2 separate regions of the Homo sapiens genome follow, and region 2 is linked to region 1. The links are contacts of gene promoters, found by promoter capture Hi-C in human tissues and cell types (Jung and others, 2019). All regions are on one chromosome and are shown on one strand. Each heading gives the region's core, a stretch centred on a gene start or on the middle of the fragment in contact. The rest is flanking DNA. Distances are from core to core; before and after follow the strand shown.

Region 1 (4,840 bases), core at 12-2,511:
ACACTTCTCATGGTCTACCTCCTTGTACCTCAGTCTCAGCTACTATGAGTGACTCCCCTGCCTTGGGACCTTCTCATGTTCCCTCTGCCTGAAACACATTATCCTCTGCTAGCCACATGGCCCACTCACTTACCTCAGTCTCAATCAAATGTCCCCTCCCTGAGGCTACTTTCCCCACCCTACCTAAAATTGCAACACTTTACCTGAATCCCAATCCCCTGTATGCAGTTCTACCTTTTCCTTCTTTCACAGCAATGATCCCATTTTTTTTTTTTTTTTTTTTTTGAGACAGTTTTGCTCTTGTTGCCCAGGCTGGAGTGCAATGGTGCGACCTTGGCTCACTGTAACCTTCACCTCCCGGGTTCAAGCGATTCTCCTGCCTCAGCCTCTGTAGTAGCTGGGATTACAGGCCCCCGCCACTGCGCCCAGCTAATTTTTTGTATTTTTAATAGAGATGGGGTTTCACCATGTCGGCCAGGCTGGTCTCAAACTCCTGACCTCAAGTGATCCACCCGCCTCGGCCTCCCAAAGTGCTGGGATTACAGGCCTGAGCCACAGCGCCCGGCCAGCACCGATCACTTTTTAACACACTACATTACTGACTTATTTATTTTAGTTTTTATTGGATCTGTCCTCCCACCAGAACGTCAGTTTCACAAGGTTAGGGATCTTTGCTTCGGTAGCTGATGTATCCTGAGTCCATAGAACAGCGCCTGGCACACAGTAAGTGCTTAATATAGACTTCTAAACAAATGAAAAGGGCTATCACACAATGTGAACAGGTGGCCATTCGTTCTTACAGTTGCATATTTGAGTTGTGAACTGTCAGCATTATTAGTCACTGGACTCTTAGCATAACACAGATTATAGAATGGAGTTGTCAGGCAATAAAATTTTGTGGAATTTAATTGAAATAAGACTTGTAAAACTCACAGGTGTACTTCACTGTAACAGGCATCACTCCTTTCTTGTAATATTTCTGCCCTCTAGTGGTTAGCCTTTTTTGCTAAATTATTTTTTAAAAAATGCACCGTACTGCTAGTTACAGAATCAAATCTCAAGGTTGAAAGGGACTTAAAGGTCAGCGAGTCCCATGAAGTGTGGTGCGGAGAGCTAAGCTTCAGGGCATAAAAACAGCCGCATATCTTCAGAAGTGGCATCCTATCTTTCAGCTTCTAAATTTACTTTGGCAGAATAGTAATTGTCACATACCACTGGCCTCAATCCTTGCGCCTCGTTTTCTAGAGATAAGGAAATGGAGATGGAGTGAGGTTATGGCTGTAGGACAACTGTCTTCATGTTGAGAAGCCATTAAAGTGAATGTAGTAAAAATCCCATCACAGCATAATTGGTGAACATATACATTCAGATAGTTCATGGGTCAAACCACATCTCCAAAACATCTGAAGAGAGACAAACCTGGATGGTCCTGGACACTCATTTCTTCTTCATTGTGGTAATTTGGCAGAAAACTGGCTCAGCAGGTCTGTGTTAACTCAGTCAGATAGGCAGAACCACCTCATCACTGTAAATATTTACAATATTAAGGGCATGGAGATCAGTCTTTATTGGAATGTTGGTCACAGCGCATGTAAACCTCTATGCCTGGTCTAAGCTGAGGGATAATTCGATTCCAGGGATGGCATGCACTCTACTACTTTCTGCTTGTATGTTTTTCCTCTAGTAAACCCAAGCTTATACCTGTATCACTTAACACAGTGGTGTGTTTTCATGGCCCTTCCTGAGCATGCATAACTGTACCCCAGAAATATGCTGTTACAGAGAGGAGACATTGGTTCACCTGTCAAAACGGGTGGCATATGTCTTACGTACATGTGATTATAGACTTCCAATACTGTCCTGGTATATAGAAACCTCTGGCTACAGCCATAGGTTTCCTAGTGCGTATGGGGTCATTTAACAAATAATGATTCCGTTAACCACTGATACTTGTCTGACCTCGGCCCTGTCTTCTCTTTTGCATGAATCTTTGATAGTTCTAGTGTCAAAACAGTAGGTACAGTCAGCGGGGTAGAAAAGCAAACTCTATTTTCAGTGAAACTAGAAAATAATATGTCAAGTAGGTGGAGAAGTTTCCAAAAGCAGTGGAAACCAAGCAGGGCACGTGTAGGAAAAGGCAGAGAACGAGAGAGAGGTCCAAAGCTACAGATCTCAGAAATAGCCAGCAAAACACACACTTCTCAAAGGTGAGGGGTTTACCTTGAGAAGCAATATGTATTTCTGTTGTGTGCCATCTTGGGAATAGAACAACCAGGCTGGTGACAAGGGCATCTCACAACCAAGTTAGATTCTGTGATGCAAAAAACAGGTCACTCTTCTAAAGATAACAATGATCAAATCTGGACGAAATATAAAAAACAAGTACTTGCAGGTGTTTTAGTGTAACCGAGAGCAGGTGGATTCTTGTGGGGTGTTGAGCTTTGGAAGAATGGAACAGCACCAGGTAAGCTTCCCATTTTCAAAGCCACTGGTGGGCTCACCCCTTGGCCCTGGGGGTGTGGTGGTTGTTTGCAGGGGCTGTGCCTGAAGCATGGGCCTGCGGTCTGGGGTACCTGTACACATGCACAGGAACTCCCAATCATGGAGGTGGAGGCAAGAGGAGAAGGAGGGCGATGGAACTGGTAGAAAGTGAACAGTTTCCGTATTCCCTTCTCTTCTGTATTGTGGAACGGTATGTATAGATTGGTATTGTCTCTTCCTTGAATGTTTGGTAGAATACACCAATGAAACTATCTGGGTCTAGAGTTTTCTTTGTGAGAAGGTTTTAAACTTTACATGCAATTTCTTCAATAGATAGAGGCTATTCAGGAGATCTGTTTCTTCTTTATTAAGATTTGGTAGTTTAGGGCTGGGCGCGGTGGCTCACGCTTGTAATCCTAGCATTTTGGGAGGCCGAGGTTGTTGGATCACTTGAGATCAGGAGTTCGAGACCAGCCTGGCCAACATGGTGAAACCCCGTCTATACTAAAAATTTAAAAAGTTAGCCAGGCATGGTGGCAGTTGCCTGTAATCCCAGCTACTCAGGAGGCTGAGGTGGGAGAATTGCTTGAACCCGGGAGACGGAGGTTGCAGTGAGCTGAGATGGCACCATTGCCCTCCAGCCTGGGCGACGAGAGCAAAACTCCATCTCAAAAAAAAAAAAAAAAAAAAAAAGATTTGGTAGTTTAGGTCTCTGAAGAAATGTTTCTATTTCATTTAAGTTTTTAAAAGTATTACATTAAATTCAGGAACACAATACATTGTTATTAACTTTAGTCACCATTATGGACAATAGAACTCTTAAACTTATTCCTGCTGTCTAAAATTTTTTACCCTTTGACCAACATCTCTCTAACACCTACCCACCCCAGCCCCTAATAACCTCCATTCTGCTCACTGCTTCTATTAGTTCAATGTTTTGAGATTCCACATATAAATGAGATCATGCAATATTTCTCTTTCTGGGCCTGGCTTATTTCACTCAACATAATAAGTCCTCCAGGTTTATCCATGTTACTGCAAATGGCAGGATTTCCTTCTTTTTAAAGGCTGTACATATATGTACCACATTTTCTTTACCCATGAATATACCCATGATTGGGATATTTCTCACACTGTGAGCTTAGGAAAACTTCATTCCTAAACAGTGGTTGGGATTGTGCCTCCACCAACTGACAGTAGATGTTTATCCATTAATCTCTTGCTGTACACTTGAGTTGTTTCATGCATTGGCTATTGTAATTAATGCTGCAATGGAGATAGGAGTGCAGACAGCTCTTCAGCATACTGGTTTCCATTTCTGTGGATATATACCCAGTAGTGGATTGCTGGGTCATATGATAGTAGAAAAAATTTTAAGAAGAAATATGCCCAAGTAACAATGCATTTGATAAGCGCAACCCAGGTAAGACACAAGAAATGTCATAGAAGTTAAGGTACTCCCTGGAGTGTTTAGAGAAGGCACTATATAGGAAATAGCATTTGAGCTGTGCAGTGAATAATTTTTATAGAAAAGAGTGCCTTTTCAACACAAGAAAGAGCAATCACTAAAACGCAAAGGCAGGAAATGACAATGTGTATGTGGATGATGGGAGCCAGCCTGGCAGCTGTGTTGGGGTCATGAGAGATAAGGCTTGGAGCTGGCAGGGTGGGTTGCAGGAGGCCCAAGGAGCGTGGGCCAAGCATGGGCTGTGGAGAGATGACTCAGAGCAGAGAGAGCCTTTGAACAATGGATTTCCATGACCTGTAAAAGGGAGAGGCTTGGAGGCAGGAGTGCCTCTCTCGAGGTGCTAAAAGCTTTTGCAGAGGGTGGGAGGGGTTGGTTTGAGCCACTGAGAGGACTTGAAAAAAGAGAGGTCACAGCTACTGGGGGCCTTAAGTCTCTGGGAAACTGGGGTACAGAAAACCAAAATGAGAAAGTCAGAGAAGAGTAGCTTTGAGAATTGGCCATGCCGGGCGCGGTGGCTCATGCCTGTTATCCCAGCACTTTGGGAGGCCAAGGCGGGCGGATCACAAGGTCAGGAGATCGAGACCATCCCGGCTAAAATGGTGAAACCCTGTTTCTACTAAAAATACAAAAAATTAGCCGGGCGTGGTGGCGGGTGCCTGTAGTCCCAGCTACTTGGGAGTCTGAGGCAGGAGAATGGTGTGAACCTGGGAGGCGGAGCTTGCAGTGAGCAGAGATCGCGCCACTGCATTCCAGCCTGGGCGACAGAGCGAGACTCCGTCTCAAAAAAAAAAAAAAAAAAAGGAGAGAATTGGCCATGTTCAGAAGCCTGCTTGAGGTAACATAGAGCAACGTTTGATGTCCAGGCATAGTGGCTCATCCCAGCATGCTTTG
Region 2 (4,804 bases), core at 1,756-4,255, 280 kb after region 1:
TTATTAGGGACTTTTTTTTTTTTTTTTTGAGACAGAGTTTCACTCTTGTTGCCCAGGCTGGAGTGCAGTGGTGCGATCTCAGCTCACAGCAACCTCCGCCTCCCGGGTTCAAGAGATTCTCCTGCCTCAGCCTCATGAGTAGCTGGGATTACAGGTATGTACCACCACACCCAGCTAATTTTGTATTTTTAGTAGAGACGGGGTTTCTCCATGTTGGTCAGGCTGGTCTTAAACTCTCGACCTCAGGTGATCTGCCCGCCTCGGCCTCCCAAAGTGCTGAGATTACGGGCATGAGCCACCGCACCCGGCTTACTGGGGGCTTTTTAACCTTGTTTGGCTACATTACCTCAGTGAACAAGGGGAAGCTCACAACAGGAACTCACACAAAGAAGGAAGAGAACAGTACCAACAAGGTAGAACATCACGATGAGAAGAAAGAATGATGCAAATATGTGGACCCCCAGGATAAACACAGCTGCCCAAAATTTAGCTCTGGCCCCCTTAGATGGGGGAAGTCAACAGTGAAGTGTTTCTCAGCATCATAAAGGCAGAAGCTGTGGTTCCTGTGGGGCCTGCCAACCGTTCCCAGATGCTGAACTCTGCTGGGAGTTTTTTCCATGGGACTTTAAAAAATGATGCCCTTAGGTTGGGCCAGACCTCTGTTAACTTCAGTAGGGATGGCACCAGGTTCAAGAGGCCAAAGAAGAGACCTGGAGCTAGTGAAGGAAACATAGGGTTTATTTGGGGAACCTTACAGGGTGGTCCAGTGGCCGCGGGCTGGACAGAACTGCAACCACTTATAAAAAGCATGCAGTTTACATAGCACTTTCACTCAGCACCCTCCCCTCAGCAGCCTCCACGTGGCAACCCTCACTTCTTAAGTTATTGCTGTCAGATGCATCTGCCATACAGGGTCATTCTCAGGGGATGCTTAAGTTATTTCTGTCAGGTACATCTTCCATACACTTTACTACCTTGGAGTAAAGTAGTAAGAATACAGCTTTTTCCTTAACCTTTACCAGCTAACTCAGTGCTTAGGGGCCTTGGAATGCCTGCTGTCCAGCAGGTGTCACAGGCCTGACTGGGAGGCATGGCCATTATCAACAGTGTATGAAGGTCACATATGGCTCCCTGAAGTGATTACATACTTGGACCACATCACCTCAGCCCCTTGCAAAATTGCATTTAATGTTACACCCTTGGCTTTTGTAGAAACAGGCAACAAGACACTATCATATAAAACTTTGTACTGCATTGCAAGGCATAACCTTTAATAAATCCCAGTGGTCCTTTGTGTAGGGAACGGGGATGCTCATAGCCTATGGGGCGGCTGGAGAACCAGTCAGGGACCCTGAGGGCTCGATGTACACTTTACATGGGTGGGCCAAGGAGTTTACACTGAGGGCACTGGTAATACCTGTAATAGTCTTATAGTACTTATAAAGCAGTTTTGCACATAAAATACCATCATGCACTTATAAGTTTGTTCTTGGGCTGCTCCAAGTTAACTTTATTCATTTTCCTAGTGTTAGTGTCTCAGGGAGTCTGATTATATTTTTGATTTGTAATTTCTATCTGACTAAGGCCTAGAGATTTCAAAACTGTTCTTTGCAATTCCTCTCATACTGAACCTCTGGTTCAGCAGCTTTTTTTGTTGTTGTTGTTTTCAAGTTTTATCATTTTTGTTCCTATTTGGTTTTGTCGTTTTTAAATTGAGAATTGCTTCTAAAACAGAAGACATGAAAAGAGAATTAAAAATACAATATATGTGTAAGATAGAATTATTCAACTTAGCATTTATTAAACATCTACCAGATGATAGACATTAGAAATAAAATGACTAGCAAGACCTGGCCCTTCCCCTCAGGGGTTCACAGAATGGCTGGAGCAACTGTCATATAAGCTGTTATGAAGTGCAGAAACTACACAGACATTTGTGCGGGTTCAGACCAGCGCAATTAGAGATGGGCAGAGTGGGATGGGGTAGGGGTAAGGTGCTTGAAATTTGCCTGGGTGGGAATTTTTGAAGTATAAAAAGGACTTCTACCTGGGGGGCTGCGGCAGTAGAGGGAAGAGCACGGTCGGTACAAATGCATGGCAGGTGTGAAACAGTTTGATTTGTTCAAAGAATGATGAATCACTTAGTGTTGTATAATGGATGGGAGGAGAGAAACACAGCGATCACAAAGGGCCATGTTTGCCAAGAAATAAAATATACTTGGAAAAAAAGTACGTATGTGTATATACCACAAAACTCGGGTGCATTCTCTAGGGACCGGCGAAGCCATTCTTTCAGGAGATATGCTCAGCATTTGCCACGGGCCAGCTGCTGTTCCAGGTCGTGGGTTAGGGCCCGGCACCAGGAAGGGCGCCCCTCCCACAGGGCCGACATCCTAACCGGCGTCGCTGCGGCCGCGGAGCTGGGAAGGCCGAGGGCGCCGGGCACGTCTGTGCAGATTTCTTTAGAGTCCAGGTCTGTCGCCCGCGTCTTCGTCGGTGGCAGCAGGGCTGACTGGCCACGGCGGCCATCTGCTAGAGCGCATTTCTTCCCATGAAACGCCACCTCCTCCGAAGTGCGGAGCGAACGCAGCCAAATCTACACAAAGACTGACAAGCTGGATCCACTCGACGGAACCCAGGGCCAAAAAACGGCGGCGAGCAGCGCCTCGGGCCCGCGATTACCGGTTTTCTGAGCACCGGACAGCGTGAGCCGTGCCAGCCCTGTCTCGCCATCCCAGCCGAGGAGGGCAGCGCGATGGCTCTTCCCTGCCTTGAAATCAACCCCATTGCCAGCCGCTTTCGCCGGCAGAGCATTTTCCGTGGGGTCCATCCGGCTCCAAGGCGGCCTGCGCTGGCCACGTGGAAAGAAACACGCCCACTGCCTACAGGCCACGCCCTTCCTCCCTTCGCGCATGCGCCCCACCCGTCCTGAGGACCTCCGAACCTGCAGGGGGCGATGAAAGTAGGCTTGCGCTCCGCTTGTAGCTGCTTCCGGGTCAGAGGTCAGACGGTCTAGCGCTGCGTGGGCCATGGTGCAGCTCCGACCGCGAGCGTCTCGCGCCCCGGCGTCGGCGGAGGCGATGGTGGACGAGGGCCAGCTGGCCTCGGAGGAGGAGGAGGCGGAGCACGGGCTGTTGCTCGGGCAGCCCAGCAGCGGCGCGGCCGCCGAGCCCCTGGAGGAAGACGAGGAAGGGGACGATGAGTTTGACGATGAGGCCCCGGAGGAGCTGACTTTCGCCAGCGCCCAGGCGGAAGCGAGAGAAGAGGAGCGGCGAGTGCGGGAGACCGTGCGCAGGTTCGGAGCCCGCTGCCCGGCGGGGAGAACCGCCCTTTCTCGTCCCGCTTGTCCTTCCCTTTGCTGACTTATCACCCTTCCTCCCAGGGATAAAACGCTCCTGAAGGAGAAGAGGAAGCGACGCGAGGAGCTGTTCATCGAACAGAAGGTTAGAGGCTAGGGAGGAGGTGTCTTATTAAAACAACTCGGCTCAGGGAGAATTCCTATGGTGGATGTAATTTGGGTTGGCAGGATATTGGAGTGGGGAAACAGTCACCAAGATTGCCTCTGACAGTGGTGGAAAGATGCTCGGGCCGGGCGCGGCAGTACTTTAGTTGGACGAGGTGGGCGGAGCCCGGGATGTCGAGGCTGCCTGGAGCCGAGATCACACCACTGCGCTCCAGCCTGGGCGACAGAGCGAGACCCTGTCTCAAAAAAAAAAAGTTCGTCTCCTTTAGTGTCCACCAACTGAAAATAAGAGGTTGCTGTGAGAATTAAATGAGGTGATTTGTAAACTGTAAGGGCTGTACAGACTTAGTGTATGGTTGCTTTGCTGTCTGATACTCGACACAGAGAGCTGGCTCCAGGCAGACATTACTTAACTGCTTTCAATTTATAACAGTGACCTGAGGGTTAGAATACCGTGGGCACCCTTTCTAGTTTTCATCAAGTCTTTCAGAGAATGTGGAGTTTTGTGGACCCGGTCTTCCCATAGCTTAGAGGTATGGGGGCAGTTTCCAGCCTAATTCATTTCTTTGCCTAGATGTAGGGCATTCTTAAAAGCGGTAACTTCAGAAGCAACTCCGGACATACTATGTACATGACTTTCTATTAATTTTAAACGTTTTCATTCCAAAAGAAAAGAAAACTCCTTCCAGACACTATTTTGGAGAAGTTAACCACAGCTTCACAGACTAAGTAAGTAATGGATCTTTTTATATTACTTGCTTATATACACCCATCTTTGAATTATATACTGGTACATTTATTTGAATCCATATAACTGAAGGAATTGTAGAACCCAAATTCAAAAGCTACCTTGGTATATGAATTTGATGGGAAAGACGGAGGTAACGTTCTACTTCTTATTTTACCATTTATTTTTGTTCATTCCCATAGCTAGCTTTTGAATTCCTGATCCCATTGTGTTCATTCAGTACATTTTGTTGACTGCCTGTCATTGTACTAGGGCATAGTGGGTGGTGGTGAATAAAAAGTGTTTTGAATCATTTAGTGGGGTAGCAGGCACTTATCCACAGGCTCTGAAAACTTGATTTGTCCCATACTTGCCTTACCTGCCACCAACCTGTCCTTCCTGTTCCCCACTTCATTTAGCATCTTTGGTGTTTTATGGTTTAAAGCGAAAAGCTATAGTCGTCTTTGGGAATTGATCAAACCCTACTAAATTTAGCCTTCTAAATTTTTTTTTTTCTATCCTCTTTTTCTCCCCTTAAGGCTTTAAATTCAGAAATTCAGCCCCCTTTTGCTTAGGCCAGTGACTCTCAAGTTTTCAGTAAAAAAACTTTACCA

The links. The method cuts DNA at HindIII sites, captures the fragments that hold promoters and counts their contacts. A contact is called where the count stands out against the background at its distance.
Region 2: a contact is called between the fragment with the promoter of NOL7 here and a fragment that was not itself captured in region 1, in 12 of the 25 tissues and cell types used here (H1 embryonic stem cells, adrenal gland, dorsolateral prefrontal cortex and 9 more).

The regions. Positions count from the first base shown.
Region 1 is chr6:13,330,984-13,335,823 of GRCh38, forward strand. No RefSeq gene overlaps it. Among named protein-coding and RNA genes, the nearest start is that of TBC1D7-LOC100130357, 4.9 kb to the left of the region's middle. The HindIII fragment of the contact is 4,242 bases long and covers 1-3,382 here.
Region 2 is chr6:13,612,330-13,617,133 of GRCh38, forward strand. It overlaps NOL7 (nucleolar protein 7), which reads left to right and starts at 3,006. Exons shown (of 8, transcript NM_016167.5): 1 at 3,006-3,295; 2 at 3,383-3,443; 3 at 4,134-4,192. The coding sequence starts at 3,030. SIRT5 (sirtuin 5) reads left to right here. Exons shown (of 10, transcript NM_012241.5): 10 at 1-2,829. LOC124901263 (a long non-coding RNA gene) reads right to left here and starts at 2,873. Exons shown (of 2, transcript XR_007059461.1): 1 at 1-2,873. RefSeq lists an enhancer at 2,219-2,388. The HindIII fragment of the contact is 29,829 bases long and covers 1-4,804 here.